Regions from separate parts of the Homo sapiens genome. Here regions 1, 2, 4, 5 and 6 are each linked to region 3. Evidence: promoter capture Hi-C in 16 types of primary human blood cells and fetal thymus (Javierre and others, 2016). All regions are on one chromosome and are shown on one strand. Each heading gives the region's core, a stretch centred on a gene start or on the middle of the fragment in contact. The rest is flanking DNA. Distances are from core to core; before and after follow the strand shown.

The links. Contacts are between HindIII fragments. The CHiCAGO score rates a contact against its expected background, and 5 or more counts as called.
Region 1: a contact is called between a fragment that was not itself captured here and the fragment with the promoter of PCDH9 in region 3, in 5 of 17 cell types (M2 macrophages, megakaryocytes, M0 macrophages and 2 more). The highest score is 15.9, in M2 macrophages.
Region 2: a fragment that was not itself captured here is called in contact with the fragment with the promoter of PCDH9 in region 3 in 1 of 17 cell types (M2 macrophages); the score reaches 5.3 in M2 macrophages.
Region 4: a fragment that was not itself captured here is called in contact with the fragment with the promoter of PCDH9 in region 3 in 1 of 17 cell types (M2 macrophages); the score reaches 14.6 in M2 macrophages.
Region 5: a fragment that was not itself captured here is called in contact with the fragment with the promoter of PCDH9 in region 3 in 15 of 17 cell types (M2 macrophages, M0 macrophages, M1 macrophages and 12 more); the score reaches 47.0 in M2 macrophages.
Region 6: a contact is called between a fragment that was not itself captured here and the fragment with the promoter of PCDH9 in region 3, in 2 of 17 cell types (M2 macrophages and M0 macrophages). The highest score is 9.9, in M2 macrophages.

Annotation. Positions count from the first base shown.
Region 1 is chr13:64,469,813-64,474,639 of GRCh38, reverse strand. No RefSeq gene overlaps it. Among named protein-coding and RNA genes, the nearest start is that of LINC00355, 400 kb to the right of the region's middle. The HindIII fragment of the contact is 1,302 bases long and covers 2,460-3,761 here.
Region 2 is chr13:64,452,123-64,457,032 of GRCh38, reverse strand. No RefSeq gene overlaps it. Among named protein-coding and RNA genes, the nearest start is that of LINC00355, 380 kb to the right of the region's middle. The HindIII fragment of the contact is 3,898 bases long and covers 214-4,111 here.
Region 3 is chr13:67,228,393-67,232,849 of GRCh38, reverse strand. It overlaps PCDH9 (protocadherin 9), which reads left to right and starts at 2,514. Exons shown (of 5, transcript NM_203487.3): 1 at 2,514-3,070; 2 at 4,275-4,457. The coding sequence starts at 4,410. RefSeq lists a silencer at 2,104-2,243. The HindIII fragment of the contact is 4,939 bases long and covers 847-4,457 here.
Region 4 is chr13:64,510,648-64,515,191 of GRCh38, reverse strand. No RefSeq gene overlaps it. Among named protein-coding and RNA genes, the nearest start is that of LINC00355, 440 kb to the right of the region's middle. The HindIII fragment of the contact is 5,466 bases long and covers 1-4,544 here.
Region 5 is chr13:64,528,546-64,533,468 of GRCh38, reverse strand. No RefSeq gene overlaps it. Among named protein-coding and RNA genes, the nearest start is that of LINC00355, 450 kb to the right of the region's middle. The HindIII fragment of the contact is 1,820 bases long and covers 573-2,392 here.
Region 6 is chr13:64,548,583-64,553,114 of GRCh38, reverse strand. No RefSeq gene overlaps it. Among named protein-coding and RNA genes, the nearest start is that of LINC00355, 470 kb to the right of the region's middle. The HindIII fragment of the contact is 8,822 bases long and covers 1-4,532 here.

The DNA of each region.
Region 1 (4,827 bases), core at 1,861-4,360, 2.8 Mb after region 3:
ATATCATAATAGAAAATGCTCTAGAAATTGACTTCTTTTTACTCTGGGGAAGAGAAAAATCAGGAAAATGTGGTGAGACACAACTACTTGAAATGCTATTATAAGGAAAAATAATAAGACTTCCTCTTTTAGAGGCTGAATCAGAAGAAATTAGTAAAAAGTGCATTAAAAACTGTGAATTGATGCATTACAGGATACATTTTTATGAGTATAGATTATTAGAATGTTTACAAAAGGATAATCATACATTTCTACTTGATAGTGTGTTGTTCAGATGGTCACTTCTATACTTAGTCATCAGATTTGTTCCTTGTTATTTGTGTTAGGTTATACATTAATTGCCAATTAATTACTACCCAGTCAATCATATTGATGATGTAGCAACCTGAAATGAACATTTAGCAAAAGGAAATATCTTGATGGATACTTTGTGTTCTAGTTATTTATATTATTTAGAAATGGGTTGTGTCAATAATTTCTGTATATTACAACACATTTCTATATACTACTTGAATATAAAATTCCCAATAATACCAGTATTATTTCTACTCCTAGTAGAATTCCAGTACAAATCAAATAGCACTAGATGTAGATTCTAAAATCTGTCTCAAAGATAAGGCTGTATGTTGAAAAAACACACAAATCAATGGAGCCTCAATAGTTTAATGTGCAATGTGATGGTTTCTAGTTTGTGTTGATGCAGTTACTTTTTGTTTCATCACAATTCTTACAATGAACAGTGCTTCTATAATTTAGGTAATTCCAACCCCAGCATAATTTGTCTCAATAAAATGGAGCAGAGAATTGAGACAACAGCAAATATAAGGTCTCAGTTTTTTGTGTAATTTCATCACCATTTCCTGTGCTAGGGACCTCATTTTATGAGAGACAGTTTGATGGTGGAGTATCTTTTCTTTCAAAATTACTTTTATTTTATTCTTAGTGTTTCTTATGTTTTAATCACTCTTAAATTTGTTCATGACCATAAAAAGAGAGCACGAAGATGCTAAGTATACAAAATGACATTGGGGGAATAATGTTTATAATTCCACTCTTATTTCCATTTTTATTACATGAAATGCCTGAGTGTCCTTCCAACAAATCCTTTTTTTTCCCTCTTAAGTAGGTTTGAATTTGTGTTTCTCTCATTTGCAACTCGGAGTACAGATAACATAATTATAAGAATAAAGGTCAGAGGGATTATAAAAGAGGGGAGTGATAAGGCTCTGAAGTGTAGCAGCAGAAATAACATTCTTGTAATTTTCTTCAAAAGAAATACTTTGTTGGAACAATTGATAAAAACTAACATACTTAGGAGAACCAAATTCTCATTAATATGCTAGTATCACATTGGGGAGAATTATAGGATAAAACACAGTCCAGAGTAGCAGATTCACAAAACACATTTAAATTCATTAAAATTCTATTGAGTTTGCATTGTTGTTGTCTTGGCTACATGATGCCAAATGATGACTTTGGCTGAATTTTAAATCTTTGAATATATTATTTTGTTCCTGGGTAGATATAAACTTCAGAAGATGCTTTATTAAAGACATTCTTTAAAGTACTAAATTTAAAATGTACTAAAAATTTCCTATTGACATGACAGTATTATATTAACTTAGGGTACTAGTTTAGAGCTCAGCTTGTTTTGGCTTTCTTCCCAATAACAATGTTACCAGCGAACAAGATCATTCAACAGTCAACAACTTTCATTCAACCCAGAAGTCTGCAAAATGTTTCTGTAAAGGACACATAAATATTTTAGGCTTTGCAGGACATAGGGTCCCTGTCACAGTACTAGATTCTGTTGTCATAGTGGGAAAGAAACCATAGACAACACTTAAACAAATGAGCTTGGCAGTGCTCCAATAAAACTTTATTTATAGAGACTGAAATTTCAGTTTTCTATAATTTTTATGTTTCCAAACATTATATTTTTTGATTTAAAAACAAAATTAAACATATACAAAGCGTTCTTAGTTTAGAATGTGACAAAATAATAAAATGGACTGGGTGTGGCTTGCAGATCATAGTTAGCCAGTCAGTAATAGACAGTTCTAAAAAACCAAAAACTGATTAGCTATTTGTTATCCATTTTTTAGATATGGTTTTTAGTCCCAAGATATCTTAAAGAACTTGAATAAAATTGCTTCATAGTTATATAATGTATTTAGGTATATTTGTTTCTTCTTTTACCAAGTATTTAGCATACAACACATAGATGTAAAAAAGGGCATATAAGTTAGTTTGAAAAATATCAATTCTGAATTTGCTAACTCTATTTAAATATTTTTCTGCAGTAGTTGTTTTCCTAACTCTAATAAGGACAGCATTCAAACATCTCTGTTATGGGCTTAATCACCTGACAACATATGCTTTTCTGGCCTAAAGCGAAAGTTCCAAGAATTTTTCTAAGTTAATTTATTTGGTTCTAGTACACTTTTTATTTTTAAGCTTTTGTTTCTTTTGCCTTTTATCCCAGTGTTGTTAACATGTCTAGCTGCAATGCAGGTACTTAGAGCACCATCTAGAGATGAAAAGTTAAAATTAACATAAAAAAAGAAGACCTAGAAGCAGTGTAACCAGAAGATGACTTTGCAATTTACAATTAGCGTGCAAATTATATTTTCAAATGATTGGTTCTAAGAAAGTCACACATTCCTAATTGAAAGCAAATACTTGTTTAATGTTGATGCTCTGCATGACTTTTCCAAAAATACATTGAATAGCTTCAAACTATAATTTGCATTCCATGCAAATAATTAAGATAATGAATAGATTACTGTGTATTTAATCATATTCATATAAACCTCTTATGTTGAGTAGATATATTTTAAGAAATCTCCTAAATGCCACACATATAAACATAAAAATACAGAGCAATGTAAATTGACATGAAGCATCTCTTTCCTTAAGCTCAAATTAATTTATTTATTATCATATATATAAACATAAATATATATATTTTGCTGACTATATGGAAGTATACTCTAGTTTTATGAATATAAGCAGTACTTATTTTTTTAGTTTGCAGAATATAATAAAAGATTTGCAAATACATAAGGAGTTTAGTTGAATTTCCCTATTATATAAACATCTTGATTCACAATGAATCAATAATATATCTATTGTTCTATTAATTTACTTGATAGCAAAGAGATTGGGCTTATTTTCTCAATTAAAAAGCTAAATGAAAAAGGAATACTATTATTTTAAAATAATATCTATATTGAAATAGATTATGTTGGTCCAATCAAAATAATACCTCTCTAATTTTGACATTTCAATTCCCTTGTTTCCTGGAAAATCAGTTTTGTTCCCAGAAATTGCCAAGATATTGGTAGTACTTGTTGGGAACATAAATGACAGTCTAAACTGAGTCCCTTTTGCCACCAGTTTATAGGGTGTCTATTTTGTCTCAGTTGTACATAAAATTTTATGTATCATCAATTCCCCTTTCGGTTTATCCAAAAATTTACAAAGTAAAAAATAAATTTACAATTAATAAATATGGGAAGTAAATCATTTAAATTATATGATAACAGACATGCATCCCAGGTGTATCTGGCTTCAAAATAAGTTATCTTTCCATTTTTCAGTTCTGCAAGGTCCTGGAACAAGGTCAGAGTCCTGTTGAATGTGTAAAATAAACTGATGCTAAGAAATTCATCATACAAATTGGAAGTCAGATTACCAGAGATCTAAGCCCAGGATACTCTTGCCATTGGCAAGAAAAATTTACAGAAGTAGCTAAAGCTTTCTAAAGCATTATATACTCATTTATAACGTGGGGATAGTAATCCAATTTTTAACAGTTATAAGAGAAGTAAATGTAAACTATTTGATAAACACATGGTGGAAATAGATTGATATTAATTTAATCAATGATGTGGGAAAATAAGCAGAGCAGGGGTCTCTTAATTATCTGAGTGCTGTAAACCAGAACTTGGATTGGTAAACATACTTTGATTGCATGGTAGTTGATTAAAAGGAGGGAAAAAGCAATTCAAAGAAGGAAGAGACTGTTGAGATCATCCCACATTACCTATTCTTGTTGTTGATCAGAAATCTGAGATCCAGAGTGGAGGCACGACTTTTCTAAATCTCAGTAAGTGCCAGGGGGGAAGATGCATCTCTCTTATTTAATACCCCACCAAGTTTTCTTCAACTCCATCATGTGCTTTTTTAACTTAAACATTTAATGTAAATAGACCAAAATCTATGCCTTTTTAAGTCTGAGTACATTCTTGACGTTTCTCCTCAGATAGAAATGCACTGGAAGTAAGTGTGCTATCACTTTAAGACTTTTCAAGGTAGCCCAGAATTTTAGACAAGTTCCTGTTCTGCCTTCCCATCATAATCACTAAATACTTAGTATTCAGATAACCACTGCCTGAGGGTCTTCAGTTTCCAGCAGTAGATTTTACCTTCCTGGTGTGCAGATGCTTTTCCAAACATATGGATCACATGAATAGTAGAGTGTGCCCCTTCTCTACCCAAAAGCAAATGCAAATTCTATATAATTTCATTTTTACATTTGGATATTTTTATCTTTAAAGATTTGTATTTTATAGCATCATATATAAAATTAGTTTACGAAGGTTTATTACAATCACAAAATAAATGACACATGAGAAAACGGAATAAAGAATCTAGATATCAGAATTGAAAATGTTAGCTTTGTTTTCTGACAAGTCTGTTGCTGTCTAAATGATTGAACAGACGTGTGATCTTGAGGTAGAGGAAGGGGAGAATCGGAAAGATACTGATTTAAATGCCTGATTCCTCATTTGGGGAATTTATGTTTTTGAGTCAGTTGCTTAA
Region 2 (4,910 bases), core at 913-3,412, 2.8 Mb after region 3:
TTTCTTTTATTCTCAGAAATTATTTATACCCTTAAAACCTCTGAAATAAATTTAGAAAGAAGTTACTTCTATCACATTTTTAAGGAGAGATGCAGGGTTGAAAATGTTTTGTGCAATGAAAATAGTATCAGTCTTGCAATTTTAGAAACTTGGTTTTTGTTTTTATTCCATGCCTTAATCACTCCCTGACTTTAGGTAGAACACTTGAAAGCTTTTGATCTAAATTATCCCCTATTGTTAACAGAGAAGGATACGTGCCCTGAAATTTTCCTACAGTGAGGATTAAGCGAGTGTCACTTTGCAGGTGAAAAAGCACTCCACTGAGGTCAGGCATTGCTGTTAGAAACCTTCAATTTCTCCCAGGTCTCTTTTGCCCATCATGCACACATCATTTTACAACTTCAGACTCAGGGATTTGCGTTCTGATTATATTTTTATTGTGAAAGCAATCTCTTATCTCAAATCAACCTTTTTTCCTCTGGTAATTTGCTAGGTAAGAAAAAAATTAAATTTAAATTTAAAAATTGGTGAGTTTTTCTTGTATAATGCAAGAAAGACAGATTCAAATGAATTGTAGCAATTCACCAACATTATTATTCACAATTAGGAAATAAAGACTGTTAAAAAGCACTATAAATAAATGTTTAAAACTGTCTAATTTGACAAACATTTCTATGGATTTAAATTAAAAAAATTATTCCTTGGATTAAAAGCCTCCTGGTGGATTTTAACTTGTAGAAATGTAGATTCGACTTGTAAAAACAATTTTTTCTTTGTTGATCAACCCTAGTTAGCTTTTGTTATTTTAATATACTTTTGCCTGTTTGTGATGAAACAGTTTGTGTATTTTTATAAAAGAATAATCATATTTATAGCATCAACATTTTTCCCTGAAAACATTTGTTTACATTCAAACTAAAAGGGAGTTTCTTTCTGAATTTATGTTTGGGAAGTTCTTGAAGGTATTTGCATCATAGAGCTTTGAATTGAAATTTAAACCTGAGGTCAGAAGCGATGTTGACATATATTAAAAATTAAAATACTCAAAGCACACAGCATGGCACAACTACAGTAATGAAGAACACCATGAAACCAAAATGTTATATTAATGACAGTTAACCTTAGTGATGTTAACTTTTATTCTGTGCATTTTAATGTTTGCTTCCATTTTCCCTATACTTTGACACTGACTAAAATCCACATATTAATGCATTATAATTTATGTCTTGGACCTCCTAGAGAAGGAGAGAATGTTATCTTCAGAATACATTTTTTTTCCAGTGGCAATTAAACATTAACTAATTAATTCAATGTCAATTAAACATTAACTAATTAAAATTGCCCTATTGAGATATCATAACTCTTATGAAAAATCTTTACTTTGAAATGCATAACTTTTGTAAAAGTTAGAAGTGGATGTACTTTTTGAGAGTTCTAAATCATGTTCCCTAATTTACCAGAATTATTGCAGTTTTAATTACATGAAACCCCAAACTATGGGTATCCAGACTAATAAAGTATAAGAAAAATTATGGAAATGAGATAAATATATGACACCTTGTACTCCACATACTGTACTCAGTGACAGAATGGCACAACATATGGAAATCTAAGTATAAAGCAGTGTGAGTATAAATTTGAAATTAAATAAACAAGTAGTTCTGGGCAAGGAACTGAACTTGAGAAATCTGACTACAGATGTCATTATAGAAACAAATGCAGCCCAGAGCTGTAGAAATTCAAAGCAGGCAGCTCCAATCCGATGACTATGTGAATATATGTATGTATGTATGTATGTAATATACATTTGTTTTCAAACAAGCATAGCAAAACCTGTCCATAAGAATTTTTGTTGCAGGTCACATTGGCTGACCTGAATCTCTGCGTTATTAATGAAATTTCAGCAATTTTTGTTAAGTAGAAGTTGTATAGATTGAATGTGTTCTGTTTTTCTCTTCTTCCCCCACCCTCATTACTCCCTAACTGCTCTGCCTATGTTAGCAGCCCATACTGTTTTTAGGCAAATGTGAGAAAAATCTGTAAGTAGTTCACAATCTCACCCCCATACCAACCCTGCTCAAAAAGTAAATTTCTATTGGAATCAGGAGATAATGAAAGGACACACGGAGAACTTGGCTTAGCAGGTGACCATTTATGGAGAGATTAAACTTTTATTGGAAGAAAGCAGTTTTAAAGTTTATGATTGTATTTTTAGCAGAAAGAAGAAAATCAAAATAAATTTAGAAAACCTATATTTAAAAACTCAGTAAATACTAATTCTTCAGAATAAGTGAAGCAAATTTACATGTAAAAGCTGAGTAAGACATGATACTAGAATAATAAGATATGAGGCTTGAGCAGTAAATTGAGTTTCTATTTTAAAGAACTTTGAACGTTATAAAGAAACATTCACATCTAATTTGGTACACAAGTCTGAGCCACTGAATTTACTGAATTTACTTTGTCCAGCAGATTAATCAGGCAACATTACCTAGTTTGGATTGAAGAAGAAAGGGGTACAAGTAGAATAGTCACTGAAGATATTATTAATATAGGAGAAGAATACATTGGAAATTTTTATTTTTGTTAAGACACATTCAACAATAGCAGAACTGACAGTTCTCAACAGAAGACATGGAAGAACAGTGTAAAAAGACCCTGAATATCTTTTCAAAAAAACGGGGTATGATTCAGGTCTCATCTATAGAGAAAAGCTAAGGTCTCTAAAATGGACACCTGAGCAATTCTGCATTAAGTCAAGTAGCTCAGAGCAACAACAACATCAGAACTGAGTATCTGAGCATCATGGGTACTGCGATTAATGTCATTAGTTCTATTAGGTTCTGGGCTTTTGCTTTTGTTTCACTGCTGAAACGGGGCTTGACACCTGCCGCCTGTCTCTTTTGATGCCTATTGTCTCTAAGCCCTTGTCCTGGTTTGGATCTTTGAGTACTCTCTGCTCTGAGGCTGCCTGCTGGAATGCACTGCCTGCTGGAACCCATCTGGACTGCCAGATACATCCTGCCACTGCACTGTCTGAGCACTGCATGCTGTACAACTGGCTGGGCTTTCTTATATTTCTTGTAACTAATTAGTCTCAGTGTACAGAGGCGTTAAATATTCACTTCCTGCATATTTCCAGGCTGCCTTTTCATCCAACCTACCATGTTCTACATTGCTGTTTTCAAAGCTCCTTGGAAATCCCTGAGATGTAAGAAGTAAAGGGAAATAGGATAATAGAAGCAAAAGGGTAAAAATGACTCCAAGACTCCATTTTATTCACTGGATGAAATAAATAGAAAAAGGAAGTCAGAAGGAAGAACTGGTTTCAGAAAGTTTTATGAGAAGGGGATTTATTATTTTAAAAAAATTTAGTAAATGTTAAAATACTGTGACTTAGTTGTGTACAAATTTTCACAATGTTTTCACTAAATTGATTATTATTAAAAGGACATCTTTTCATTCCCACTTCTTTCCAATGCTATGATTTTAATAAAATGGCTATTTTCTGAACCAGATGCCCACAGAGCATTTTGTATTTGAGTATATTCTCACAATTTTTCTACCCACTACTATAATAATTACGTGAAACAAGTGAGACTCTGTGCCAATTTTATCAGCATTATATAATAAATTTTAAAATATTAAATAATTAAAAATAATTGATGCTTTTTTAAAACCCAAATCTTTCTGATATACTATTAATTTATAAATCAATCAACATTTCCTCTGTGTGTATATAAGTGATTATTTCAATGAATTACTTTTAAAAAAATCACAGTTAAAGATAGTTCAATTTACTGGGCTTTACTGAAATTCTATCCTTATAATGCAGCTATCTTAATCGATCCATTTTAAAACCTTTTCATACAACAGTAATTCAACTTTTAATGAATTAGATTTAAATGACTGGAGAAATAAGCAAATTCTATATAGATAGCATATATAACATTTTCTAAGAAGATGTTAAAATATCTTTCTATTATAATCATAGGTCTTCAAAGAATATAGGCTGTAATAAAGTCAATGAGTATTCACAGCTGACCACAATAAAATATCTTAAGTTCTGATACTTACCTCGGACAAATATTTATTAAACTTACCCAAAGCTTTAATAAATATAAAACAATGACTGGATTTATTTTATTGTATATATTTTCACTTCTATTCCAATTTTGTGTACTTACATTCCACGTTTAAGCAGCCTCAAATCTAGATAACTTTATTTTCTCCTAAAATGTAATGCCTGACGAAAGAGCAATTTTGGACACAATTTCCTTAGGCAGCATAAACTACACAAAAAATGATCATAATGGTTATATCATGCTCTCTATGAATTGTTATTTTTGCAAATTTCAGACAAGCTTTTTGAAAATATTCTTTTAAACATGTTACACCCACAATGGTTGAAATTTGACTTTATTTAAGTCCTCTATCTGAGCATAAGGTGCACCCAAACAGAAGAATCCTTCATGTCTCCTCTTAATGCAGATAATCGCTAATCAATGTTAATGGTAATTTCAAGAACAATCCAAAAAAAATACTATGAAATGTAAGTTATGTGTTCACATACACAGAGACATATTCTAGTACACATTTGCAATTGCTTCTTCAGAGTATGGAGCAATAATTAAAATGACAGAAGACTTGTGTCCTGTAATGATAATCTTATAATATTTTTAACTATTACTCAACCTCTCAGAAATTGCTTTTATTCTAATTAATAGAGTTACTTTCATTTATTCAGTATTTAGCATCTTCTGTGCAATAGATACAATTTACTTGCTTAGGTTTCAAAGATTGTTCTATGATAAGTACTCTAATAATTGAAAGAGCATTATGGTGTATTGTGAAAATGAACACTAACAACTATGATTTTTCACAGGGAGAGGAATACTCTATATGAAGTT
Region 3 (4,457 bases), core at 1,265-3,764:
TTCTGGGGCTTTGACCTGTGGTTTTCTTTAATTGAAGTCTCATAGTCATTAATTGAATCATGTGATGATTTTTTTTTTCTCTTCTCTAACCTTCATCTTGTGTTCAAACTAAGATTTCATTTATGAGCAGGAGGTAATAATGGGTTCTGCCAACACGTGAAGCTATCCTTAGCAAAGAGAAACAACTCCGTTTAATAATGATGTTAAATAATTATTGCTAAGCTATGTGTTGCGACTACAACATGACTTTGAAATGACTACGGTATGATTAGAATAAGAATATGATATAACTGTGGTGCTTATGAAATGAACTGGAAAGTGGCTGTGCTGCTATGTTTATTGTAAATGTATCACAATGATGGTTCATTTATTTAAAAACAGTGCAGTGCATAAAATAGGTGACAATTGGAACAATGTACTAGCTTTAATTGTAGATTTTGTGAATGGCAAAATGATCGTTTACTGTGGTAAGATAAAAGAATCATCCTTTCATTCACTGACATTATTCTGTGAGGCAATATTTTTCTTTTCACTTTGGGATACTTGTAAGTCCTTTCTATTCTTGAATTTTATATATTCTAATCATACAAAATATTACTATAATAAAAGTTGCTTTGCTATTTAAAAAATATCAGTCTATTATCTGCAAGGAAAGTATTTTATATTTTACATATAAGGGATTAATGGATTTTACAGTGGGCTTTTAGACACTGCAGTTGAACTGTGAATATTAACTCAGAAAAGTTTGAATTAAAAAGAGCTTACAATTTCATGTTGGAAAATTGTGATGTCAAATTAGTTGGTTAAATCATGTCATTATTTATTCAATATATGGCTTAGTAAGCTTGATTGGTGTTTTTTTTTTTTTTTACTTTTCATTTAAACGTCTAAAAACAAATGTTACTTAAAAAAGAAAAAAAGCAAACAAAACTATTGTACTCAAAAACAAGGGGTAATCTCCAACACGCCCTCAGTCAAGAGCTTAAGTATGTCAAGAGCCTTTAATGCCTAGGCAGCCCATTATAGAATGGGGAACACACAGGTTTAAAATAAATGCCCTTTATTCTTCCTGTAAGTTAGACCAAGTTATTCAATCATGTACTAAGACCTTCTCTGACAACCTTTATAGGTCATTCAGAAAATAAATTTTTGTTCCAAGTGAACTGTTCCTATGTTAATGCTTCAAACTTTACTCAGGTATCAGGCGTTAAGTACAAGCCATTACACAAACCTTTGTGGTTTACTGACTTTGAAAGATCAATCAAATATATTACTAGATAGTGCTTTGGGGGTCAGTATTTGAGAAATAAAGCTGTATTTTTTGGGGAGTCATTCCATCCAGTTCCCGTATGAAAACGAGAAACTTGTGAGGATTTAGTACAGAGCTGGAGTCGGAGAAATGAAATGCACGGGAAAAGACGAAAATCACAGGAAAGAAAGTTGGAATCAGCAGAAAGTGCCTAGGGGAAAGGAAGTGTTCCACAGCTTGGGAAACAGCTGCCTGGGACTCCTTCCAGCCCCTCGGAAGCAAAGTTCGCAGTGAGGTGGGCTGGAAGCGGGTTTTGCAGCAGCCGCGAGTCCGGGCTCAGGTTTCCAGGCGCGGCTGGAGCAGAAGTGCAGGGACCGCCACGATCCACCGCCGCGGCCGGTCCCGCTCCGCTAGAGGAGACTTCGCACGCGCAGCCGACTGGCCCGGGCTGACCGAGGGGACCCAGACGCTGCCACTTTCTCTTTCCAAGGCAGTTTCCGTGGCTCTGCATGTAGGAAGTGCTCCGATTAATTTTCTTTCCGGTCTCCGCAGAGATTCCAAATTCTGCGGTCCCCACCTTTCGCTGTACTCCCTCTCCGCCCTTCTTTCCAATGTCCCTGCCAGCAAAAGCCTCTATTTGCAGCACCGGGCATGTTGTCCGTTTAACGCGCTCCGGGGATCTGCTGGCTCGTGCTCCCAACCCAGGGGTGGCTATACGTCTCGCGCCTCTGTTCCTGGGTAGACTCCCCCATCTGTGCATTTTGGCCCCTTCACTTAGCAAAGAGATGTGCGAAGTGTGCGCCTGGAGACGAGCCGCCTCGGTGACCCCCATCCGCCCGCAGCGGTGGCCCTGGTTCCCCGGATCCGCGCCCGCGCCCTGCGGGTCTCCCGCGCCGCCCTTGCCCGCCGGACCACCCGGGCTCAGAGGGTCGCTCGCTTTCAGCGCCTGCGAGCGCCGCTTCCGCCCGGGCCTGGGGAGCGCCAGCGCGTCCCTCCCACGCCGGACCCTGCAGAGCATGCTCAGTGCACCTCATGGAACCCGGCTCTCCTGGGGCCAGGATCAGATTTCCGGGTTTTCGCTGCTGCCGAGGGGGCGCGGAGGAGGGGAGGCTGGGAGACAGTCAGCGCCTTGTTCCGCGCTCCCTCCCTCGCGCCGGGCTGCGGCCGCCCGCGCCGCAAGATGCAGGCCAATCAGAGCCCGGGGGCGGGGCCTGGGCAGTCACGCCCTCCCTCTGGGCTTATTGAGAGTTATATCAAGAAATTCAGTTCAGAGAGAGGAGAGGGAGAAGGAGAGAGGGGCAGAGGGGAAGGGAGAGAGGGAGAGCACGCGAGACGGAAAGGAGCGCCTCAGAGTCTCTGAAGCACGCAAGAGATAACCGATTAGGAATTTTTCGGGCAACTGTCACCCGGATAGCTGTCAGAGAATCATCATCACCGCAACTCTGACGTTTCCTACAAGAAGTTAGAGACTTAAGCAGTATTGGCATCGGATGGAAATGGTATGCATGCTGCTGTGGAAAATATCCCTGAGCTGAAGAAGTGCAACTATGTGTTGTGTGTGCTAAATGCCCAGAAGAACCCAGACCCAGTGGGTAAGAGAGACGAAATGTGGAGAGAATGACTAACGACAAATCCGTGAATTTGTTCTCTGGAGTTGCTAATTTGCCAGCCCGAAGCAACACATTTTACAAGGAGGAAACATTTTGCTGCTTCTGATTTCTCCCCAAACTGGTGCTACCAGATGCATGGCTTTCTATGTGTTGGAACAAATCATTCCTAACTGCAGCATACTGGGAAAGGGGAAAGGTTGAGGCAACTAACGTAAGTGTAAAGTTTCGCATGCACAATTGTAAATTCTGTGTTTAGATGTGTCCTCAGTGTAGGCGAAAGATGCTTGTAATTGGGTAGACGGTTGGGGCAGAGCTCACCTACTCGGCTGTATCTGCATCCCTACCTGCATCACTCTGCCGGAACTAATCGCGGGCATCAGCTACTGTGCAGCCTAATGCAGATAAGATTAGAGCCTGAGAACTGACCAGTCCTACTCAAGTAGGTAGCTGCCTGGAGCCTTGCACCCATTTAAACTGCAGTTATCTAAGCAGAAGCCTTTTTACCTGCATGATTGGGTTGCAGTATTTATGTGTGGCAAATGTTACTAATATTCTAACCAGAGATCAGGATTAAGAAATTGCATTTTTTTTCTCTTTTATGTTCAGTAGAAAATATTGTGATGTTACATGGGAATGTTAGCTGCGTTTCACTTATATCTCGGCACTCTCTTCCACCTCTAGGAAAATGAATCCTATATTATTATACATTTTTAAAAGTTTTAATGTGTTTATGAATCCTAATGAGGATAATTTGTCAATATGGAGAAAGGAGAGCAAGCTGTGGGCAAGAAATCTGAAGTCTTGTTGTTGTGCTTTTAGGCAATGAGGATGTGTAGAGGCCGGTGACTATTGCTTCTGATGCCGCTGCAGCGGCATGTCCGGATGCTCGTTTCCCAGTAAGATTGTATTAGAAGGCAGTTGAAGAACTGGGAGGAAAGAAAAAGATAGCCTTTTTAGAAAAGATAGGTGACTCAGTGGGGCAGAGAAGAAAACACATTTGACATGTGACAAAGCAATTAGCAGGAACCGTAGCTAAATACTTAGTGTTTTTCACTTGCACCTGAAAAGACTGAGGGAGGTAGGTTAGAGGCTAGGAGGAGGGTGAGACAGGGGGAGGGGAAGAGGAGAACAAGAATGCATGTTTTGAATTAAACAGTATTCTGAAAAACAACGTGCGTGAATATAGGTAAAAATAGCAGCTGTCCTTAATTCAAAAGTAGAAAATTTTATTTTCTCCCGGCAAATGCAACCAGCAGGAGATATTTAGTGTTTTTCTCCACAGAGTAAACTTGCAAACAGTGGCAGAGCAAACTGCCATGTTTACTAATGTTCAGGGGAAAATGTGTGGTGATATTTTGTGACGGTGTGTTTTTATTTACTGAAGAATAATATTGTCTATACAATTGTGTTGACAGCGGCTGTCTCCAAATAAGTGATGAGATATAATGCATCCTCCAGTCCATGCACGCTTCCTCTTGCAATTTGTGCATCATTCCTCAGTGGAAACCTTTAAACCCTAAAATCCAGGAAAAGAAAATAAATACATTATCATGGACCTGAGGGATTTTTACCTGTTGGCTGCTCTGATTGCCTGTTTA
Region 4 (4,544 bases), core at 1,288-3,787, 2.7 Mb after region 3:
AGATTGTGTTGTTCAAAGGTAGGGAATAAAAAGCAACATGAGGAATTCTAAGTTTCTGTGATAGAAAAATAGATTTCATGATGCAGATTTGTGGAAACTGAGACTGGAGAGAGCGAAGTCTAGAATTAGAAACTAGCCTTCTTTGCCATGAAAAGAAAAATGAACTTTATCCTATAGTGAAGGGGTGCCAAACAAAATGCTAAATGAGGGTTATGGTATTATTAATTTATTTTATAGAAAGAAAACTAAATTTGAGAATAAAATTTAAGCATAGGAATCCAGATGTTGGACTCATTATTTTATAAAGTGATGGTGCCTTGACCACAGGCTTTAGCAATGAAACAGGGCAGAAGAGACTGGCCTGGGCATGTGTATTTCTGAGCTGAAATCAACATTACTTCATGTAATCTTCATAACAACTTCTGAGATATGTGTTTTTTTTTTCTTGTTAAAAAGTTTTCATTAGGCCGGGTGCAGTGGCTCACACCTGTAATCCCAGAAGTTTTGGAGGCTGAGGCAGGAGGATTGCATGAGTCCAGGAGTCTGAGACCAGCCTGGGCAACATAGGGGCACCCAGTTTCCATAAAAATACAAAAATTAGCCAGATGTGGGGGCACATGCCTGTAGTTTCAGCTACTTGGAAGGCTGAGGCAGGAGGAGTGCTTGATCCTGGGAGGCTGCAGTGAGCCATGATGACCACATTGCCCTCCAGCCCGGGAAACAGAGGGAGATTCTGTTTCAAAAAAAAAAAAAAACAAACAAACAAAAACAAAACAAAACAAAACAAAACAAAACTTTTCTTTTTATCTTAAAGATAAAAACAATACTCTGAGAGATGAAAGTAACTTGTAAAAATGACTGTGGATCACAACTTTAGGGTTTAAATCTGAACTTTGAACTTCAAGACCAAGATTGAGTACACTCTAATTTGAAAAATAGAATTGTATAGCTTGGCAATGCTTTTTTTTAATTTACAAAGGTAATTTAAGATTATTAAATCATTTATTGTTAAAATAAGAAATAATGCACATACCAAAATGTACCTCCTCATCCCCAGAAAACCAAAGCCCTGCTCAGCAGTTTCTCACAAAATGAACACATCTGTATCAACACACCATTTAAGAAATAGAATGTCATAGATGGCTCTTGAATGGGCAAAAGCCAGTAAGATTCTTTTTGAAAATTGGCACAAGACAAGGATGCCCTCTTTTACCACTTCTATTCAACATAGTAATTGAAGTCCTAGCCAGAGCAATCAGGCAAGAGAAAAAAAAATAAAGGGCATCCAAACAGGAAAAGAGGAAGTCTAACTATCCCTGTTTGCAGATGACATCATCATATATCTAGAAAACCCCATAGTCTCAGCCCAAAAGCTCTTTCAGCTGATAAACAACTTCAGCAAAGTCTCAAGATACAAAATCAACATCCAAAAATCACTAACATGCCTATACACCAACAACAGTCAAGCTGGGAGCCAAATAAGGAAAGAACTCCCACTCACAATTGCCACAAAAAGAATGAAATACCTAGGAATAAAGCTAACTAGTGAGGTGAAAGATTTCTACAAGGAGAACTACAAAACACTGCTCAAAGAAATTGTAGATGTCACAAAGAAATAAAAAACATTCCATGCTCATGGATAGGAAGAATAAATATTGTAAAAATGACCATACTCCCCAAAGCAATTTATAGATTAAATGCCATTCCTATGAAACTACCAATGGTGTAATACCCAGAACTAGAAAAAAACTATTTTAAAATTCACATGGAACAAAAAAAGAGCCTGAATAGTCAAGGCAATGCTAAGCAAAAAGAACAAAGCTGGAGGCATCATGCTACCTGACTTCAAACTATACTACAGAACTGCAATAACCCAAACAGCATGATAATGGCACGGAAACAGACACAAAGGCCGATGGAACAGAATAGAGAGCCTAGGAATAAGGCCACATACCTACAGCCATCTGATCTTTGACAAAGCTGACAAAAACAAGCAATGGGAAAATGACACCCTATTCAACAAATGGTGCTGGGATAACTAGCTTGTCATATGCAGAAGCCTGAAACTAGACCTCTACCATATGCTATATTACAAAATCAACTCAAGGTAGATTACAGACTTAATTGTAAAACCCCAAAATTTAAAAACTCCAAAAGACAACTTAGGCAATACCATTTAGGATGTAGGAACTGACAAAGACTTCATAAGAAAGATGCTAACAGCAATCACAACAAAAACACCCATTGAAAAATGGGATTTAATTTAAACTAAAGGGCTTTTACACAACAAAAGAAACTATCAATCTACAGAATGGGAGAAAATCTTTGCAAACTATGCATCTAACAAAGGTCTAATATTAGCATCTAAAAGGAACTTAAACAAATTTCCAAGAAAAAAAACCAAACAGCCCTATTAAAAAATAGGCAAAATACATGAACAGACACTTTTCAAAAGAAGACATACATGTGGCCAACAATCATGTGAAAAAGGTCCAATATCACTGATCATTAGAGAAATGCAAATAAAAATCACAATGAGATACCATTTCACATTGATCAGAATGGCTATTATTAAAAAGTCAATAAACAGGTGCTGGTGAAGTTGTGGAGAAACAGGAATGCTTATACACTATTTTATATTTCTCCCATTGGAGTGTAAATTAGCTCAACCATTGTGGGAAACAGTGGGCAATTCTCAAAGACCTAAAGACAGAACTATCCTTCAACCCAATAATCTCATTACTGGGTATACACCCAAAGGAATATAAGTCATTCTATCATAAAGACACGTACATGCCTATGTTCATTGCAACACTGTTCTTATAGCAAACACATGGAACCAATCTAAATGCCCATCAATATCAGATTGGATAAAGAAAATGTGGTACATATTCATTACCATGGAATACCATGCAGCCATAAAAAAGAACAAGATATTGTCCTTTGCAGGAACGTAGATGGAACTCTAGGTCATTATCCTTAGGAAATTAAAGCAGAAATAGAAAACCAAATCCTGTATATTTTCATTTACACATGGGAGCTATCCTTAGCAAATTAAAACAGAAATAGAAAACCAAATCCTATATATTCTCATTTACACATGGGCACTAAATGATGAAAACACATGGACACATAGAGAGGAACAACAGACACTGGGGCCTATCAGATGGTGGAGGGTGGGAGAAGTAAGAGGATCAAGAAAAATAACTAATGGATACCAAGTTTAACAACTGGGTGATGAAATAACCTGTACAATGAACCCCCATAACACAAGTTTACCTGTGCCACAAATCTGCACACCTATCCCAGAACTTAAAATAAAAGATAAATAAAAAATAGAATGAAACCCTTCCAGCTCCCATCGTCCTCTTTAGCCCCTAATCACTATCCTAATCACTATTCCTCCTTACAACCTTTTTTCCTTTTAAGTAGCAACTATCTTGACATTTATGCTTATCACTCTGCTGCTTTTTTTAACTTTGATTTTCCATAATATAATTTTCTTTTATTGTTAATTTTAACCTTATGTAAATGGAATTGTACATTTTATATTCCTAATATGTTGGTTTTCTTGGCCTAGTATTTGTAAGTTTTATTCATATGATGGTATATATTTGTACCAAATATGTACAAAGACATTATAATATCCTTTATAAACATGGATACATAATTTTTAAACACAATATTAGAAAATTGAATTCAATAATAAACAAGAATAATATATCACAACCAACTGGGATTTATCCCAGGGATACGGGGTTGGTATTCAAAGATGAATTTGAAAATCAATCAATTCTCCTTATTATATTTGTAAACTAAAAAAGTAAAATCAACGTGATCATTTAAATTAACACAAAAAAAGCAACTGACAAGACTGAAGTTTCCTGGTTGTTTTATTTTTGAATTCTAGAATTTTTATGGTTTTTTCACCTTGTGATGTACTGTTCTCTGCCAAAATTCTCAATTTTTTAAACCCCTTTGATTATTGACAGCATAATTAATTTAAAATTTGTGATAGTTTAACATCTTGATTCTTCATGAGTCTCTTTTACTAGCCTTCTATTTTTATGCCTTGCTATTTTTCAAACAGACTTTGTTGGCTTACCATATAAGCGGTTATTTTTGACTGTGTCACAGGCATTTTATTTATATAATTTTTTGTGGGAATCTTTTTTTGGACTATGGTCACGTTATTGTTCTCCAGAGAGGAATTATCACTACTTTTGGCACATATTGCTTAGTTTTTACTAAAATTATCATCATTTCCTAGGAAATTTGGCATTTTCTAAATGTGACAGAATATTGGTAATGGAATGACCAATCTCACTCCCAACAGTGACAGGAAAAAGCAAACAAAGGAAAACTCTAAATATAATTTGTCTGTAGTACTTCATGCTCCAACCTCTGAAAAAGTCACTGTGATCATCAAATATTTTGCTCTGATTGGCCAAAATTGAGTCACGCACTTGAGCCTGGATACAAAGAATATTCACCCAATCTTTAAGAATGTGAGAATGAATTATCTTGAGGAAAACTGTGGTACA
Region 5 (4,923 bases), core at 233-2,732, 2.7 Mb after region 3:
AATTTTACCTAAAGAACTGTTTGAATAATTGTACCACATTAAGCTTCCAGGATCTGGGCAGCATTTTGTTCTTCTCCACTGCTATACAGAGAATCCATCCAAACAATTTTAGGAATCAAAAAGACATATTTTATTTGTTTATCTGTGTACGATGTGTTTTAATTTGTGAAGTCTTATAGTAAATAACTGTTAATTGGAGGAACAAATGTTCATGTGATCTATAAGGAGTGATGAAGAAACACACACACACACACACACACACAAATAGTGTCAGAGGCCTCGAAGCTACTCTGAAATTTAAAATCAGAGAGAAAATAATATTCTAGAGAAAGGAAAATCTAAGCAAGTTATGAAGATAAAAACCAACTGGCAATTTTAATATTTAGGTCTTGTCAGGAAAACAGAAGCTATGTTAGAGATCTCATCTGGAAACACTTAAAACAGGGAGTTGGTTACAAATTCACTGAAAATCAGGACAGTAAAACAGTGATGGCTGGGAAAGAAAAAGAGAAATGGTTTGCTATCCCAAAACTGGTGAGCTACTGCCAATTGTGATCTTGAGTCCACAAGCTTGAATGTGGACTCATCTGGAAGATAATAGAGGATGAGGGTGATCAGATATGAAGGATGTGGGGGGGTTGTTATTAAACCGATTTAGCGGAGTTCTTGATACAAGATAATTTTACTAGGAGGTACACACATGGATGAGCTTAGGAGAAAATTCACGAGGCTGACTAACATTGGGTTGAGCAAAAAATCTTCGCCACTTGAAGAAAAAAATTAAAATTTCAAGAGAAATATAATACTTCATTTAAAATGCCATTGATGTTTACAACAGTACATTTTACACAATATTGTGGTATTTTAAGGATAATAGAAATTATCTAGCTATAACTAGCTATAATGATTTTCTGCATATGAATAGGCTAAAATAGCAGCATTAATATCTTCTCTACCAAAAAAAAAAATTACTTAGTCACATTTAGCTTGTCTTATTTTCCTGTACTAAAAAAGAAAAAAAAATAGTATGGTGACTATAGCCCACTAAAATGTGATCTAGTTTTTTGTTTCATTTTGTTTATTTTATTTTTATTTTTTTCTCTGGAACATAATCTTATTTTATTTTGCAAAATATCTGGTTTATATTACTCCAACCATAAACAAAATTGTAGATGTTTACAATAAAAATGCAAAATTTAAATGCAGAAATAGGACATGACAGTTAATATTAGAATGGATTTCAAGTTTCGTGTTCCATTTAGAATCATAGAAATTGTAAGTATTTTCACTTAAACTTTGTTTACAGTATTATGATTTTTTTTCTTTGACTCTTACTTTTGGTAAACACAGATTTTAACAACTGTTGAAGACCAGAGTATGCCACCCCCAAATATGAAGTATTGTTGAGTCGAAGACAATTAAGAATAAGCAGATGCAGGAAAGGTCTCTACCCTCCTATTTGCCTAAATGAAGGATGTCAACTTTCAACAATGAGATTTAGAAAATATGATTAAGTAGAGAGTTTATTCAAGTTCAAAACTTGAGGATCTCCGCTTGGGTAACAAAGACTCTAAAAGAATGGGGGTCAGTGCTCCAAAGTGGGAAAGTTATAGTTTCACTTACATAGGCAGAGATAGATAAATTTAACAGAGTTGCGGCATTTTCCACACAAGGCCAATACATACATCATAGTGATTTAATTGATTACAGTTTGCTACATCACAAGTAAGATTGCTTTAACATTACTTAAAAAGGGGTATTAGACCCATGGGGGCTCTTTTCCATGGTGCTTTTAAGTCTTTCTTAATCATCTACAATACAAGAATAAGAAAGGAAGTTAAAGGAGAATTTGCAACAACATGTCACGTGACTCAAGCCACAGCGTCACGTTCCTCTCGAGGCTCAAATAATTTAAAGTTCTCCCTAGAAGGGAGAACAAATCTTAACTACTGAAAACAGCTTTAGATGCTTATCATCTGAAAAAGAGACAAGAAAAAGAGACTAGCAAAATCTACATTACTAGGCTTTAGTAACTAGCCTTTACCTGCCATTTGTTGGCCTTCTCAAAAGTTACAAGTCCTCTCTTTTTGTCTTGTCACTTCTGTAAAAATTTACTGTTAAAGAACAAAGGTTGACAATGCTGTATAAATTGGAATTCAAAACTACCTCTTTGGTAACTCCTCATTCCCTGGGTGTCTCCTCTGTATATATGAAATGTACATATTATACAGGTGAAGAGAATTTTTCCTCTCCCTATGAGTGATTGAGTTTGCTGAAATAAACTGACAATAGGCAGATCAACAGGTGAAAAGGTGTAAAAATGTATTAACATACTTAAGCACAGGAGCCACACAAAATATGAGAGTGGAAATAGGGCCAGTTAATTGAAGCTTAACCACTCTTATAGCTGCCCAGTGGGTTCACCTTGCTCCCTGCCTAGACAGAGCCAATTTATCAGGACAAGGGAACTGCAATAGAGAAAAAGCAATTTATGCAGAGCTGGCTGTGTGAGAGACCAGAATTTTATTATTCCTCAAATCAGTCTCCCTGAAAACTCAGAGATCAAGTGGGTAGGGCACCAGTGAGTCAGGAGAGCTCATTGGTTGGCTCGGGTATGAAGTCATAGGGAATCAAAGCTATCCTCTTATGTTGAATCAGTTCCTGGGTGGGGGCCACAGAACTGGTTGGCAGGTCCAGGTGGGGCCATCTGGTTGTCAGAAATGCAAAAACTGGCAAAGACATCTTGACAGGCCAATCTTAAGTTCATAGTAGTGATGTTATTCTCAACAGTAATTGGAGAAGTTGCACATATTATGACCTCTGGAATAATGGTTAGTAATAGTTAGAATTGCAGTCCCTCTCATCCTTACTTTGCAGCTGGTGGCCTTTCGTTCATTTTACAAGAACGGTTTAGCTTTTGGGAAGGACTATTATTTAAAGTATGAACTAAATTCCTTCCCAAGCCTAGTTTGACCTACACCCAAGAATGGATAAGGACAGTTTAGAAGTTACAAGCAAGATGGAATTGGTTAAGTCTGATATCTTTCACTGTCATAATTTCCTTAGCTATAATTTTGCAAAGGCAGTTTCACTCTTGTCACAGGGGAGAGGCAAGTGGGGAACTGTAAGCAATTTTAGAGGGGAAAGAAACTTTTAGGGAAAATAAATGGACCCAGGAAGCAGACATTATGTTTTAAATGATTCTCTGGAATTTAAATGAGTCTGAGATACAGGCAATATCTTGTGACAAACTGTCCAGGTGTGATTACATTTCTCATTCTTCTACCTGAAATAGTGACATTTCAGGGAGGGGGCAAAAGGCAATTGTGTTTTTGGTGGTAGGTATGGTTTTAAAGTAGTAAGGAAATTTCAGAGAAAAACTCCCCCTGCTGGGGGGTGGGAGGAAAACAGGAAAGGTCAGAAAGTTTTCGAGTTCCAGGCCAATTCCAAAGCCTCCCTATAGAAGTTTTAGGTGTTCAGCATACCAAAGCAACAAACTTTGTGGGTATTATTTTCTGAGACGCAACAAAATGGGTCATGTTTTGTTTTCTTTCTCTCATTAAGTCTGTCTTTTATTACAGGGGTGCTTTCTAAGAACCTATGAGAGTTGAAGGAAAAATTAATTTTCTTACCCCTATGCAACTCTTTGTAAAATAAGTGAATTTATTTTATTGAATAGCAAATTTTATTGAGATGATTGGAAAACAGCAAAATATTTGAGAAATTTGTCATTATAACAATCAATACATAGCATGAAAGGATCTAACGTAAGTGGAAAATAGCATGAAACGAGAAGGCTAATAATGAAATCCAGATTCTCTTTAATACATTCTATTTTACCATTTGACAAAACCATATCTAAAAAGCACTTAAGAGAAAATCATCTGTACATGTGATTAAGGTAAATTTAGGGGTTTAAGTGAAATGTTTGGACAAGTACCAAAACCATTTTATAAAATTTGCAATGAAACAAACTTTTGGGTGCAGCTGCAAGGTTGGATATATACCTGCATAGACTAAAATTTAACCATCTCATCTCATTTTTGAATGAAAATAAATTTCAATTACTCTTACAATATTTCTGAAATGTAAAACAAAACTTAATTTTACTTTTCCCATTTCTATTTTTAATGCCTTATTTAAGTGACAGACTCCAACAAACTATCTAAATAATGTGCTCCTGTTAACTTTCTTTAATATGCCAAATCAGTTTAATTACAGTTTCTATAAATAATCTATGCAAAATACTTCCCTGAAAAGAATGCACTTTTCCTTCTGTGTGTGGCACATTTTAATACTTAAAAGCATTAGAACAGATGTTAGGTGCCTGCTAAACTTGTTTTCAGTTTTCTTTTATTTATATGTTAATGAGAATTTAATTACTTCATGAATACTTAAACAACCTGAGGATGCCTGATATCATTAGCTTGAACATGACAAGCACCTCAAGTGACCACATGGGAAGACAAAAATTGCTTTTAGTTTACTTGAAGACAGAAAGATGAATTCATTTCACCCCCTGCTATGTTTTACCTGACACACAAAACTGAAAAAGCACAGACTCAGTCTTGCTTCAACGTGACTGAAAGGATTTCAGCAAAGCACTCAAGAGCATAAATTCTTCCTATTTGGTTTTGCTTCGATGTCTTTTAATAACTACTCTAGCAATACTCTGCTCTAAAATCTTATTTCACTTGCAAGTGTTCTGTTAAAGCAAGTCACTCTTTTTTATGTATTATTTCTATGGTAATCTTAGCAGAACTGTGAACGTTTAAAGTATTATTTATGTCACTGAAAAATGTCTCCATTTAAGCTCAATTGAAAGGTTTTATTTAGCTAAATGGTAGGAACTCATGTAAAGCAAATAACATTTGTAAATTTTTGCATATTATTTTTACGAGCACAAATGGTGAGTTAAATATA
Region 6 (4,532 bases), core at 1,940-4,439, 2.7 Mb after region 3:
TTTATATTATGCATAATAATTATTCATGATATTAATATTCTGTATATTATTATGTTTTGAGTTTGTTTTTATAGAGATGGGGATTCACTATGTTGCCCAGGGTGTTCTTGAACTCCTGGGCTCAAACGAATTATCCTGCTTCAGTCTCCCAGTGTGCTGGTATTACAGGCATGAGCCACCACTACACCAGGCCCTGTTTTGAAATCTTTAAAAAACCTTGTAGCTGGGAAGAGACCACCTCTCCATAAGCTAGTCAATTCTTAAAAATTGCAAAAGGCCCAGCCAGAAGCATGACTTTGATGTGCACCCTAACCAAACCAATAATGTCTCTACTATCTGACCTGCTCACCCCAAGAGGCAATATTCCTTAATTATCACAGGACCAGGTGCCAGGCAACTAGAGACTACCCCTATAGCTTAAATCCTGCTAAAATTATTCAAGCTAACCAATCCTAAGCTGTTTTCCCTGCCCTGCCCTGACTTTCTCTAGTAAACTCCTGATAAGTCCATGGCCTAAGCACTTCCCCACTCTTTCGTCTCTTCTGCCTCCTGAGCACCTTGGTGTCTTTCCTACCTGCCCGTCACCACATTTCATGCCACCTGTCTCTAGGTGAGTATCATAAATGTTGTTTACTTAAGCCTTTCCTGTGTCTCCTCTTGTGATCATGCCTGACTAATCATCACATTAAAAAATACAAATACTTTCTTTTATAGAGGCCAGAAAATGACAGAAAGTCAAGGACAGTTGACTAGCTTTAGGCATTTCACCTAGCTTTAGTCATGGTCTCTAAAATACAAATAGGAAGACGACATTAGGTGTCCAGGCAAGTGTTTTTTTTTTCTCTCCCTTATACAAAAATATTTTTCAAGGAGAATGTATCCTCCTTTTTTTGGAGGCAGTGTAGTGAATATGTTGCCAAGAATCAATGGTAGGTATCTAATGATGCTTGAGGGAAAGACAGAACTAAAGCTGAACACCTAAAGTTAACTGGGAGGAATATGAACAAAAACCCTCCAGGATCCTAATGACATCATTGTGCTTCTAAAGTAATCAGGCCCCTTGAATCCTTGTTACGTGAGGTAAAGAATGCCCTTATTGCTTAAGTCATTGACAGCTGGATTGTTTGTTACTTGTTGTTGAAACTGTGCCATCTGGTTCTCATCATCATCTGTCCATGATGGTATTTACTAAAACATTCATCATCCTGTCATGTCCTTAGTCATCAGTGCATATGGGATGCCATTGAATCATCCTTCATTTTAATCCTCAAAGTCCCATTGAAAGAAATCATTCTCACACTTCTGCCTAGAAACCATATGAGACTGTTTAAGATCATCTACTTAGGTTATTCATATAGCCATTTATTTTTTTCTTGAGATTTCTAGCTCTTGCCTCCCACTCTCTAGTTCTACATGAAAAGCAAAATCTATATTGCCTTGACTCTTTTAAATTGTACACTTTCAGGGGTGTTTTCATCCCTCTTCGACCTGGATTGTGGAACAGGAAAATGATAACTTCTTTTGCAGAAATATGTTTTGATCTACCCACTATGCATCCATGCTCATCTCTTACCTTCAACTTAGGCATTCCTTTCCCAGTCTGAAGAGGCATTGCAATCACCTGTTCTTTCATGTCTGTCTCCAAAAGCCTATTGTTTATGCCCTGAATTATGTCCACTTTCCTCAAAGACGAATTATGTGAAATTCAAAAATTAGACTTCTTTAGACTCACTTATCTTTCCCTGGAGCAATGAGCATGGAACACTTCATGATGTTCTGTTAAAATGAGCAAGGGAGCAAGCAGGATCACAAAATAGGAAAATTTATTTTATTAATATTTCAAACTTATGAATTTGGCACACAGATTCATTCTCAACAAATTTGTTTGTTGTCTTCATTTAGTCCTAAGCATGTGGGTTGGGTGAGGGAGGCATTTCTGGTATATTTCGCAGGATACTGAAAATAGATCTATTGAAGATCATTTTCTGGTGCTGAGGGTAAACAAAACTGTTTATATTTTCAACCATGTTGAATATCACCTTAAGGCTCCTTCAGTTTGACTATGTTTCAGTTGAATTATATGCTATATTCTGCTGAAAAGACTAATTTTAGAGATATTTTATAAGGCACTGTTACAAACAGTCTTCTGAGACTGGGCTCCAATATCAAATAATTGATAACTCGAAGAAATGTAATTCCAAAGTTTTTCTAGTTAGAGACAACGTTTGTTGGGGTGAAGTTTAACTTTTGGAGAAAGTGGGAATATGGGAATCACTTAAATGGGCCTTTGGTGATAGAAGTGAGAAAGAAACATTTTTTAATTGAAATAAGGTTTTAAAACAATACCAAATTGTTCTGCATATTAATGTCGAAAATTGTTTCCCTCTGGGCAAAATTGCCTCCTTGCAGCAAGATTATTATTATGATAATATTGAAGTCTATTTTATAGAATTATGCAAGAGATTAAAGAGTTTGTTTATTTTTTTCCTCACTTAGAGTGAAAGGGCAGTTGAGAAACTAGGCTCTAGTTCCAAGGGGAGATGATTAAGGAATTTCACCCAGTTAAAAGGAAACTGACTCCTATAACTGAACAATAGCCAGGAGTCTAAGGAACAATAAGTCAATGACAATTGTGTCTTGGATAGAGTCTAGGATACACATTTTGTTTCATGTTTTTGTTGTTCTTGAAAATTCCCTACATTGCTTCCTGTTTGTGCTTCTCAAGTTCTCAGTGAAGTCTTGCTGGATTTTAAGACTAGTCTTACATATTTCAGGGTTTAGGGTTAGGTGTGTATTCATAAGGAATGTATCTATATTTTGACAACAACAATAACCAGAAGAACAATTATTGAATAATATGATAAGTGGTAACTTGCAAGGAATAGGGCAGCTTTCTTCTGTGGCTAGGTAGCTAGTCCTTTAAGTTATTAATAGAGCATGCAGGAATTCCTTGGGAAGCCTCACCCATAAAAGACAGTTCTTATTGTTACACATATAATGAGGGCTTTTATATTGCTTGTTGTAGTAGATACTCTAGTCACCATTCATTTCCTCTTTCTTCTTTTACAACAAAAAACTGATTTTAGTAAGGAACCCAGTAACTTACATGTATCCATGAGCTGTGTAATACTAAGCACAGTAATCCTAATTCTCCCTAGTACCCTCCCTTACCTACTGCAAAATATTCAACAGTTGATACTTCAAAGGCATCCACCAATTGGAATGGAGGACTGTTTTACCACTGGAGTGGAAGTATGGAGGCTTCTTGCTATGAGATACTGAATATGAGAGGGCTGCCTGTAAGAGGTGAAGAAGGAAGAAAGAAACACAAAAAGCAGCTCAACAGTCAAAGGCCGGGTTATTGTGGAGAATAAACCTGAGAGGGGCTTCTGGCCGAGTGAGGTCAGGAGCACTGTTTTACAGACTAAGAATATTTAAGAGTTTAGGGCAAGAGAGCTTATCACAGGCTTGGAATGTTTCTGTGTCTCTGTCTTGCTTATCTGGGAGGGAGAGTTTTTGTGTCTGTTCCCATACATCTTCCTGCAGCTGCAGGCACTGCCTTTCAAGCGCTACTGAGGTAAGGATCCTAGCAACATTAGGTGGATTTGCATCAGTTGTTTGACAAGTGTAGGAAAGAAGAAACACAACTTTTTTCTCACCTGTTGAAAAGTTCGTGGCTGACAACTGTATTAGTTCGTTCTTGCATTACTATGAGGAACTACCTGAGACTGAGTAATTTATGGAGAAAAGTGGTTTAATCAACTTACAGTTTGGTAGGCTATACAGGAAGCATGGCTGGGGAGGTCTCAGGAAACTTACAATCATGGCGGAAGGCAAAGGGGAAGCAGGCACTTCTTAAATGGTGGAGCAGGAGAGAGAGCGAGGGATAGGTGCTGCACACAACCAGGTCTTGTAAGAACTCTATCACAAGACAGCACTAGGAGTATGGTGCTAAGCCATTAGAAACCACCCCCATGATACAATCACCTCTTACCAGTCCCCACCTCCAACACTTGGGATCACAATTCAACATAAGATTTGGGTGGGGACACAGAGCCAAACCATGTAACACCATTATAAGAAACACAGATAAACAAGAAAAAAGCCTAACAAATTTATTTAGTAAAAATTTTGTATGACATAAGAGATTTCAGGAATGATACCCAAAGAAACAGGGAAAACTGTATTTTTGTGCTTAAGTTTGATGATTGGAAAGTCATGTAGAAGTATGACTGCACAAGAGAGAATATGATATAATGGTAACAACTGAGGTAAACTTGCCAATGCCTGTTTGCTCAGATTCTTCTTTGCATTTGTATGTCTTTATTCCTTTCCTCAGGGTATAGGACAGGACACCTGTCACATAAGAGGCTCTCAGAGGAGAAGGGAAGGAGAAGGTCAGATCTTGCATTTTCAGTTTTCTCAATTTCCTTCAGCTTAAAATATTCACTATGCCAAGCTGCCATGTTTTAAGTCATTGTGTTCTGAGCCCCACAAGAAGGAATCCATAGGTATTTCAATATTTAACAAGT